Linked DNA regions of Homo sapiens: all the other regions are linked to region 1. The links are contacts of gene promoters, found by promoter capture Hi-C in blood cells and fetal thymus (Javierre and others, 2016). All regions are on one chromosome and are shown on one strand. The core of a region is centred on a gene start or on the middle of the fragment in contact, and the rest is flanking DNA. Distances in the headings are between cores, read along the strand shown. Region 1 holds the start of PRMT3 (protein arginine methyltransferase 3). Region 2 overlaps TPH1 (tryptophan hydroxylase 1). Region 3 overlaps GTF2H1 (general transcription factor IIH subunit 1).

Region 1 (2,866 bases), core at 183-2,682:
TATACCTTATCTATATTCCTAACACATGTGGAGCATTAGTTTTCCACAAATGTTTACCGAGATAGGTTATGTCGACTATTTATGGAGGCTATCACAGCCACGGTACCACTGGTGCTCAATAAATATTTTATGACAACTAGAATATATACAGGCATTCTATCTACCCAATGGGGCTACAGATGAGAACACTAACGCACCACCACTCAGCACCATGCCCAGATACAGGGAACACTGGAAAATGTATTAAAGTAACACCGGCCAATGCCAACCGGGCCTCTTTCATGCCTACTTGCCTAGGACAGGAGCCAAAGCTTCCCAAGACTAACAGGCAGAATTTTAAGTGGCAAGAATGTGAGTTTGGAAATAAGCACACCACAGCTTTGTGACCTTGAGCAAATTATTGATACTACAGTCTTTTTCCTTAAGTGAAAAGTCCTACTTAAGTAAGGTGAACTTCCTTCTTAGACTATGGAAACCGCTCAAATAAAAAAGAAATGTTTCACCTGAGAAGCTCTGTACTGGTCAAAGAATTAGCATGGTAAAGCCGGAAGGCTCCGTAGGGATTATCTAGTTCAGGGTGGCTGCCAAATATGTTACTCGTTAGTAGTAACTCGTTAGTAACTTCACTGTTACTTCCGATCTTGTCCTCATAAAAACAGAATATTCTTAGACCCCATCCCTGACTTGGAAGGATTCAGGTGCAGAGTTCAGTATCATTTTGTTTTCAGCGTCTCAAGTGACAAGATTTGGGAACCACAGATTCAATGCACTACCAGTCAAAAGCTTGCAGTACAACCGGCCTTCCAGTTCACGGTTCCCCCTCTCTACTACCGAGGGTCCTCCTTCTCCACAAGCCCTCACCCCAGACCAGTGGTTCCAGAATTCAAAGACAGGCCACTCTGGCTTGCCTCCCGCCCGAAGGCGTTCCTGGGCACACAGACCCCACGCGCCCGGGCACCCTAGGGCAGAGGCCAGGCGCTGAGGCGGACGAACCTGTTACAGAACAGGCAGGGGGTCTGCTGCTTGCCGTGGGGGAGATCTGCATCGTCCTCATCCTCCCAGGCGGCCTCGTCCCCGCTGTCCGACAGTTCTGGCAGGTCCTCCTCATTCTCCACAGCGCCCCGGCCGCCTAACACACACACACAACAATCAGATCGGCCTCGGACACCGGTGCGGCCCGGGGGCTCGAGGAGCAGGTGACGATGGGCTCTCCTCCGCCCCGTTCGCCCGCGGCCCTCACTCAGCACCTCCTTCATGATCCCTGCGAGCCCCCCACCCTGCCCGGGCCCGTGTCCCGGAGGGTCTTCCACCGGCCCCACAGCGGCGCGGCCTGGGGCTGGACGAGCCGGGTGCTGAGGGGCCAGGGTACCCACCGGTAGCGCCTGACGCTAACGAGCACATGGCTGTGGTGCCCCGAGAGCCCGGCGTGTCTGGGGGCGGGGACCGGGTTGGGCAACGAGCGCGCGCAGCGGCCGCCGACTCCAGGAACGAGCGCGAGCACAAGCGCGAACCCGCGGCGGGACCCGGGCTCCGGAAACTTCGCAGACCGCCGGGAACGCCGAAGCGCGCGCGCTGGCTCGCAATCGCTTCCGGCCTCGAGGCGCCGTGCGGGTCACGTGAGGTGGGGGCGGGGCGAGAGCGGGGGCTCCGCCTCCTCCTGCCGCAGGGTTGGCGCAGTGCGCGCTGAAGAGGCGCGCTGATGACGGTTAATGTTGCAGCCCGGAAGATGACTTTTGTCTCCTCCTTGGGTTGCGGCAGGCGTTAGTGGGAGGTCGCGGCCCGCTGCTGTGAGCCCCAAGGCAGAGAGACGTCGCTGCGGTTTTGGGGTTGGCATCCTGTCCTCTGTGCGCCCCTTTTTCCTGGGATGAGCGGTTAGCGGAGGGGCGATCGGCCCATGACGCCCTCTGGTGGCGGAGGAGGCCAAACGCTGGAGGCTCGGCTGGTTTCTGGGCTCCCAGGTCCTGGAGGGGGTGCAGCTGGCGAGAGGGAACGAACTGCATGGGCCAGGGTGGGTCTACTGCAGGGACAGATAGGTGTCAAACCCCCCAAGACGGATTTTAATCTTTGGTTAAGTGAGAACGTGAACTCTAGAGGCAGCCTGCTGGGTTTGAATCCTACCCACGTCACTTTGTAACTGTGATCTTGGGCAAGTTACTCGACCTCTCTCTGCCTCAGTTTCATCAAATACAAAACAAGGATAATAACTGCACTTGGGCAGGGCACGGTGGCTCACGTCTATAGTACCAGCACTTTGGGAGGCTGAGGCGGGCGGATCACCTGAGGTCAGGAGTTGGAGACCAGCCTGGCCAACATGGTGAAACCCTGTCCCTACTAAAAATACAAAAATTAACCAGGTGTGGTGGCACGCGCCTGCAATCCCAGCTACTTGGGAGGCTGAGGCAGGAGAATTGCTTGAGCCCGGGAGGCGGAGCTTGTGGTGAGCCGAGATTGTGCCACCGTACTCCAGCCTGGGCAACAGAGCAAGACTCCATCTTAAAAAAAAAAAAACAAAAAACAAAAAACCTGGACTAACTTCAGAACTACAGTAAGGATAAAACGAGTTAATACATGTAAAGTGCTCAGACATAACTATTTAAGCCAGGGAGTGATGCTCTCAGATGTGTTGAGAAAGTAACAATCTGGCTGCTGTGTGGGGAAGAACACAAATGTTCCCCTGCCTGCCTCATGCCACGTCCCTTTCTTCCTTTCCTTATATCTCTTCAAACCATAGAACTTTTTTTTGTTTGATTTTTGAGACGGAGTTTCGCTCTTGTTGCCCAGGCTGGAGTGCAATGGCACGATCTCAGGCTCACCGCAACCTCCACCTTCCGGGTTCAAGCGATTCTCTTGCCTCAGCCTCCCGAGT
Region 2 (2,866 bases), core at 182-2,681, 2.4 Mb after region 1:
GGGACTGCAGGCGTGCTTCACCATGCCCCGCTAATTTTTGTTTTTTTAGTAGAGATGGGGTTTCGCCATGTTGGCCAGGCTGGTCTCGAACTTCTGACCGCAGGTGATCCATCCGCCTCGGCCTCCCAAAGTGCTGGGATTACAAGCATGAGCCACCATGCCCAGCCGGTTAATAATTCTTAATCAGTAAATCATTATTCAAAGACATAGTTAATATCTTCATGACTTCTTAAGGATGCTCAAAAGCTGGTCTTCAGAATACCTACATTTCTTTATCTACATATTCTGTCATTTGGAGTTATACAAGTAGTAATGACACACCAAAATGTAAATAATTATTGTTAGCTTTTAAGTTGGCTTCCAAATTCAAAAAAGAAAAAAATCCTGAATTCTCTAAAGGAACATATGATAGAGTCCATATGTTAATTCATAGGAAGTGTTTAAGGTACTATGGTCTATTTTGGTCTAATCTTTGTTTTACTATGTAATATATATTTATGATTTACAAGTTTGTTATTCAGTGGGATAATAAATGAACACAAAATTTATGTTCTCAACCAATGTTTACTTTTTTTCAAACATACGTTAAAAATTTATTTAAAGTTACATTAGCAATTTTATTAGTTTAGGAAATCCATTGTATCTTTATACTTCTTAAAAAGCCTATGGATATGAGATAGAAGCCAAACATATCTGGAACCTGGTAACCACTTTTCAGAGTTCTTCGTAAAGTCTGTGTTATGTTCCTGTCAACGAAAAGAGTCAAACACAGTAAAGTATTTGAAGAGCCAAATATGAGTGACCATGGCCCATGACACAGCCCTTAGGAGACCCTGAGAACATGTGCCCAAGGTAGTCAGGGTACAGCTTGGTTTTATACATTTTAGGGAGACATGAGACTTCAGTCAAATACATTTATAAGATACACTGGCTCAGTCCAGAAAGCTGGGATAATTCAAAGTGTTGGGTGGGAGGTTTCCAGATTATAGGTAGTTTTAAAATTTTTCTAATTGGCAATTCATAGAAAGGAATGTCTGGGTTGCTGTATGAGTTTGTGGAGACCAGAGTTTTATCATGCAGATGAAGCCTCCAGATGGCAGGCTTCCAAGAGAACAGACTGTCAATTTTTCTTATCAGACTTAAGGTCTGTGTTGATGTTAATGCTGGAGAGGTATAAGGAGGCATGTGCGTGACCCCACTTCCAGTCATGGCCTGAATCAGTGTTTCGGGTTACATTTTAGAGTGCCCTGGCCTAGAAGAAAGTCCATTCAGATGGTTGGGGGGGGCCTTAGAATTTTATTTTTGGTTTACACTCCTCATCTGTAAAATGAACTAAGTCTACTACACTAGATTATTGGAGAAGTTATGCTGCAAGAGGACTTTGTAAAAAAAAAAAACTCATTTTCCACATGTAAAGAATTACTAATACAATCACTCTCTTAACAGATATTCCCCCTTAGCTTCTAGATGATTTTATCTTCCACAAGAGGGTATTAATTTTTGCTTCTAGTAGGCAGTATATAATGGCATGGTAAAGTCTGAGTCCAATTAGGGATTGAGCCAAAGAGAAGTTGAGCTTCAGTCTTTGTGAGGGCTGGTCTATTTCCAGTTCACCTTGACTTTTAGGGTGTAGCCCTTTAGGGATCTCAAGAGAAAACTATGAGTGTGTACCAGGGCTTCTCCTTGGGGGCTCTGGACTACTACTTTTGTCCCCTCCTTCATGTCCACCATTCCCTCCTCCCATCCCTACCCTATGAGATTGCTAAAGGTACTGCTCAGCTTCTTAGTTGTTGATTTCAGCCCAGTTTCTTAGCCTCCAAGACATTGCTTAGTAATTAGCAAGTGCTTCAAGCAGAAAAGTAGTGCCAAATATAATCTCTCAGCTTCCAGATCTTGGCCCTTCAAGTTCTTCCTGCTTTGATAGCTCTCCAATAACTTGAAATATATTTTAAAAATATTTTGTCAAATTTTCTAGTTGTTTTTTTATGAGAGAATAGGTATGCAGCTAGCTAATCTTCCTTTATCAAAAGTAGAAAACTGACCTTGAAGTAAATAACTACTTTGAGCCTCAGTTTTCTCATCTATAAAACAATGATCCTGGCCAGGCAAGGTGGCTCACACCTGTAGCCCTAGCTACTTGGGAGGCTGAGGCAGGAGGATCACTTGAGCCCAGGAGGTAGAGGCTGCAGTGAGCCATTATCATGCCACCTGCACTCCAGCCTGGGCAACAGAGGGAGACCCTGCCTCAAAAAAACAAAATAAGATAAAATAATAATCCTAACAGCACTTATCATACTAGTATTATTGGGATGATCACAAAAAATAATCCAACGGGAAAAAATTTCCTAACCTTCATGGTACAGAGATGCAATCTGTATGTTCTCAAATACTTTATACTTTCCTCTTTTGGGGAGATAAGCCATCTGAAAGTGAAGCCATTAGATGGTTTAAATCTAGTCCCATTCAAGAACTGCAATTCAGCCAGGCTGCTCATGGGAAGAACTAGGCAGTGGCGAGTACATAGTTGAAATAGTTGCAACATCTCAACACTTCCAATAAATTGTATTAAGGGATATGACATGATAATATAACTGTAGGTTAGTTAAAATATTGATGCTTGTACATTCAAGGGGTGGAGTCAGAAAACAACTATATTCTCCCAGACCTTCTCTCTATTAAAACTGGCTCTGTAGGTAGTTCTTCCTTGCCCTTCTGGATGAAATCTCAGGTTGCTGCCTGACTTTCTGCTTGCTCACAGGTAATAAAAAGTCCTTAGCTCCTAATTTCCATTTCTCTCTCTCTCTCTCTCTCTCTCTCTCTCTCTCTCTCTCTCTCTCACACACACACACACACACACACACTCTCT
Region 3 (2,866 bases), core at 138-2,637, 2.1 Mb after region 1:
GCGTCATGGTTGCTTGCCCATACCCCATTTCTGAGCCTTACTGACATGAGCACAGTGGTACCATTTTCAGAAATTAATGAGAAGGAAGAGCAGATTTGAAAGTGAAGATAAGGAATTCAGTTCCGGACATGATGAATGTGAGGTACTGCTGAGTCATGCAGGTGGAGATAGTCTGCATTATGTAGGCATTTGCAAACGCTGGAATAAAGCCCGATTAGATGACTGCTTTTAATTAAAAAGGGATTTAAAAAATTCCATGTCACAACCCTAACATCAATTTTCCTCATTTTTAATTGTGCTTACCTTATCTGTACCCACCTTACAAATGTAATCATAAAATACATTCAAGTCCATTATTTTGTGATTTTTACTCACCACTGAGAATTTGTTTTCTTACAATCCCATTTTGATATCCATATATCAAATATGATAAAGGATCACAATTCTTAATAAACGATACCACCTTTTAACTGACTTATTTGATGTCTTAAGACTTTGAGAGTTTTCCCTTCTTGAAGTTTAAAAAACTGTTTTAAGACTATTTAATGACATGAAAAGATACACAGAAAAAAAAGGCATGTAGTTTGATTCCATATTCTTTTTTTTTTTTTGAGATGGAGTCTCACTGTCACCCAGGCAGGAGTGCGGTGGCGCGATCTCGGCTCACTGCAACCTCCGCCTCCCGGGTTCAAGCGATTCTCCTGCCTCAGCCTCCAGAGTAGCCGGGACTACAGGCATGTGCCACCATGCCTGGCTAATTTTTTGTATTTTTAGTAGAGATGGAGTTTCGCCGTGTTAGCCAGGCTGGTCTTGAACTCCTGGACGCAAGTGATCCGCCCGCCTCAGCCTCCCAAAGTGCTGGGATTACAGGTGTGAGCCACCATGCCTGGCATGATTCCATAAAATTTTTTTTTTTTTTTTTGAGATGGAGTCTTGCTCTGTCACCCAGGCTGGAGTGCAGTGGCGTGATCTTGGCTCACTGCAACCTCCTCCTCCCAGTTCCAGGAAACTCTCCCTGCCTCAGCCCCCCAAGTAGCTGGGATTACAGGTTCCTGCCACCACGCCCGGCTAATTTTTGTATTTTTTAGTAGAGACGGGGTTTCGCCATGTTGGCCAAGCTGGTCTTGTACTCCTGACCTCAGGTGATCCACCTGCCTCGGCCTCCCAAAGTGCTGGGATTACAGGCGTTAGCCACAGTGCCTGGCCCCATATTCTTTTTTTTTTTTTTTTTTGAGATGGAGTCTCCCTCTGTCACCCAGGCTGGAGTGCAGTGGCCCGATCTTGGCTTACTGCAACCTCCGCCTCCCCAGTTCAAGTGATTCTCCTGCCTCAGCCTCCTCAGTAACTAGGGGTTAGAGGCACATGCCACCATGGCTGGCTAATTTTTGTATGTTTAGTAGAGATGGGGTTTCACCATGTTATCAGGCTGCTCTCGAACTGACCTAGTGATCCCCCGCCTCAGTCTCCCAAAGTGCTGCGATTACAGGCGTGAGCCACTACACCCGGCCTGCCCCATATTCTTAAATTTAAAAAAATCTAAAATTTAGGCTGGGCAGGGTGGCTCACGTCTATAATCTCATCACTTTAGGAAGCCGAGGCGGACAGACTGCCTGAGACCAGGAGTTTGCGACCAGCCCGTGCAACATAGCAAAACCCTGTCCCTACAAAAACTATAAAAATTAGCTGGGCCTGGTGGTACACATCTGTAGTCCCAGCAAGTCGGGAGGCTGAAATGAGAGGATTACCTGAGTCCAGGGAGATGGAGCCGTGATGATACCACTGCACTCCAGTCTGGGTGACAGAGTATTCTCCATCATCTAGAATTTGCTGAATGCTTAATAATGTGTCAGGTTCTGCACTAAGTTTCTTATAGGCATTATCTCAGTCCCCAGTTAATAATCCCATGAGGTAGGTTCTATTATTAGTTACATTTTGTAGATAAGGAAACTGGGTCTGAGAAATCAAGAGGCTTTCTTAAACCATCAGGGAAGTAGCAGAACTGGGTTTGAATCTGGGTCAGTCTGTCTTTGAAATTTCACTATGTTACTCTGAAAATATATGCGAATGAAGGGATAGATACCAAATTTAATAATGATTATCTATGGGTGATAAAAATACAGATGATTTAAATGTTCTCTTTTCTGATCTATAATAATTATGTATTTTATACTAGAGCAGTTATTAAAAAAAAAAGTCTTCCCAAGAGTTTCTTCTCTATCAAACCAAATGTTTATAAAGGTAACCCAGGAAAGTGTTAGGGGTGCTAGTGTGAGAATTTGAAAACAGTGTTTTCTATTTTCAATAGTTTATTTTAACATTCATTTTCTAGTATTCTTTACAATAAACATATAACTATGCAATTCTTCTGCCAGAACCTCCCAAGTAGCTGGGATTATAGGCATCTGCCACCACGCCCAGCTAATTTTTCTATTTTTTTTTTAGTAGAGATGAGGTTTTGAGGCAGGTGGATCACTTGAGGTTGGGAGTTAGAGAACATATTTTAAAAAGCCCACTCTGTAGAATATGAAACTGGACTGCAAACCATACAAATTAGGAAACATATGTTTTAAGAAAAATGAATTAAAATCTAAGAAAGATGAGGGGAGGATCTGACGGGGAAGTTGGCAAATAATTTTAAGTATGTTGATACTTCATTATCCTACTTAAGTAGGATAATTTTAAGTATGTCAGCAGTTGGAAGAAAAGCAGTGAGCAAGGACAGCTGATAGAGCAAGTCTCCAATTAACTGGACTTACAGGCACAAATAAAGTGTTAGTATTGGAAAATAATACAAAGACCTTTATGAGTTGAGAAGGTAAAAAAATGCATGAAGACAGAAACTGCAAAGTGGAGAATACATCATGAG

What was found. The method cuts DNA at HindIII sites, captures the fragments that hold promoters and counts their contacts. A CHiCAGO score of 5 or more calls a contact.
Region 2: a contact is called between a fragment that was not itself captured here and the fragment with the promoter of PRMT3 in region 1, in 1 of 17 cell types (non-activated CD4 T cells). The highest score is 5.2, in non-activated CD4 T cells.
Region 3: a contact is called between a fragment that was not itself captured here and the fragment with the promoter of PRMT3 in region 1, in 1 of 17 cell types (activated CD4 T cells). The highest score is 5.4, in activated CD4 T cells.

The regions. Positions count from the first base shown.
Region 1 is chr11:20,386,282-20,389,147 of GRCh38, reverse strand. It overlaps PRMT3 (protein arginine methyltransferase 3), which reads right to left and starts at 1,432. Exons shown (of 16, transcript NM_005788.4): 1 at 1,374-1,432; 2 at 994-1,129. The coding sequence starts at 1,401. RefSeq lists enhancers at 562-611, 467-1,073, 1,074-1,681, 1,555-1,724 and a silencer at 1,162-1,721. The HindIII fragment of the contact is 3,061 bases long and covers 786-2,866 here.
Region 2 is chr11:18,015,246-18,018,111 of GRCh38, reverse strand. TPH1 (tryptophan hydroxylase 1) reads left to right here. Exons shown (of 11, transcript NM_004179.3): 11 at 1-557. Among named protein-coding and RNA genes, the nearest start is that of SERGEF, 3.6 kb to the right of the region's middle. The HindIII fragment of the contact is 3,043 bases long and covers 1-2,866 here.
Region 3 is chr11:18,326,569-18,329,434 of GRCh38, reverse strand. All of the region lies in intron 1 of GTF2H1 (general transcription factor IIH subunit 1), which reads right to left. Among named protein-coding and RNA genes, the nearest start is that of GTF2H1, 5.4 kb to the right of the region's middle. The HindIII fragment of the contact is 4,770 bases long and covers 1-2,866 here.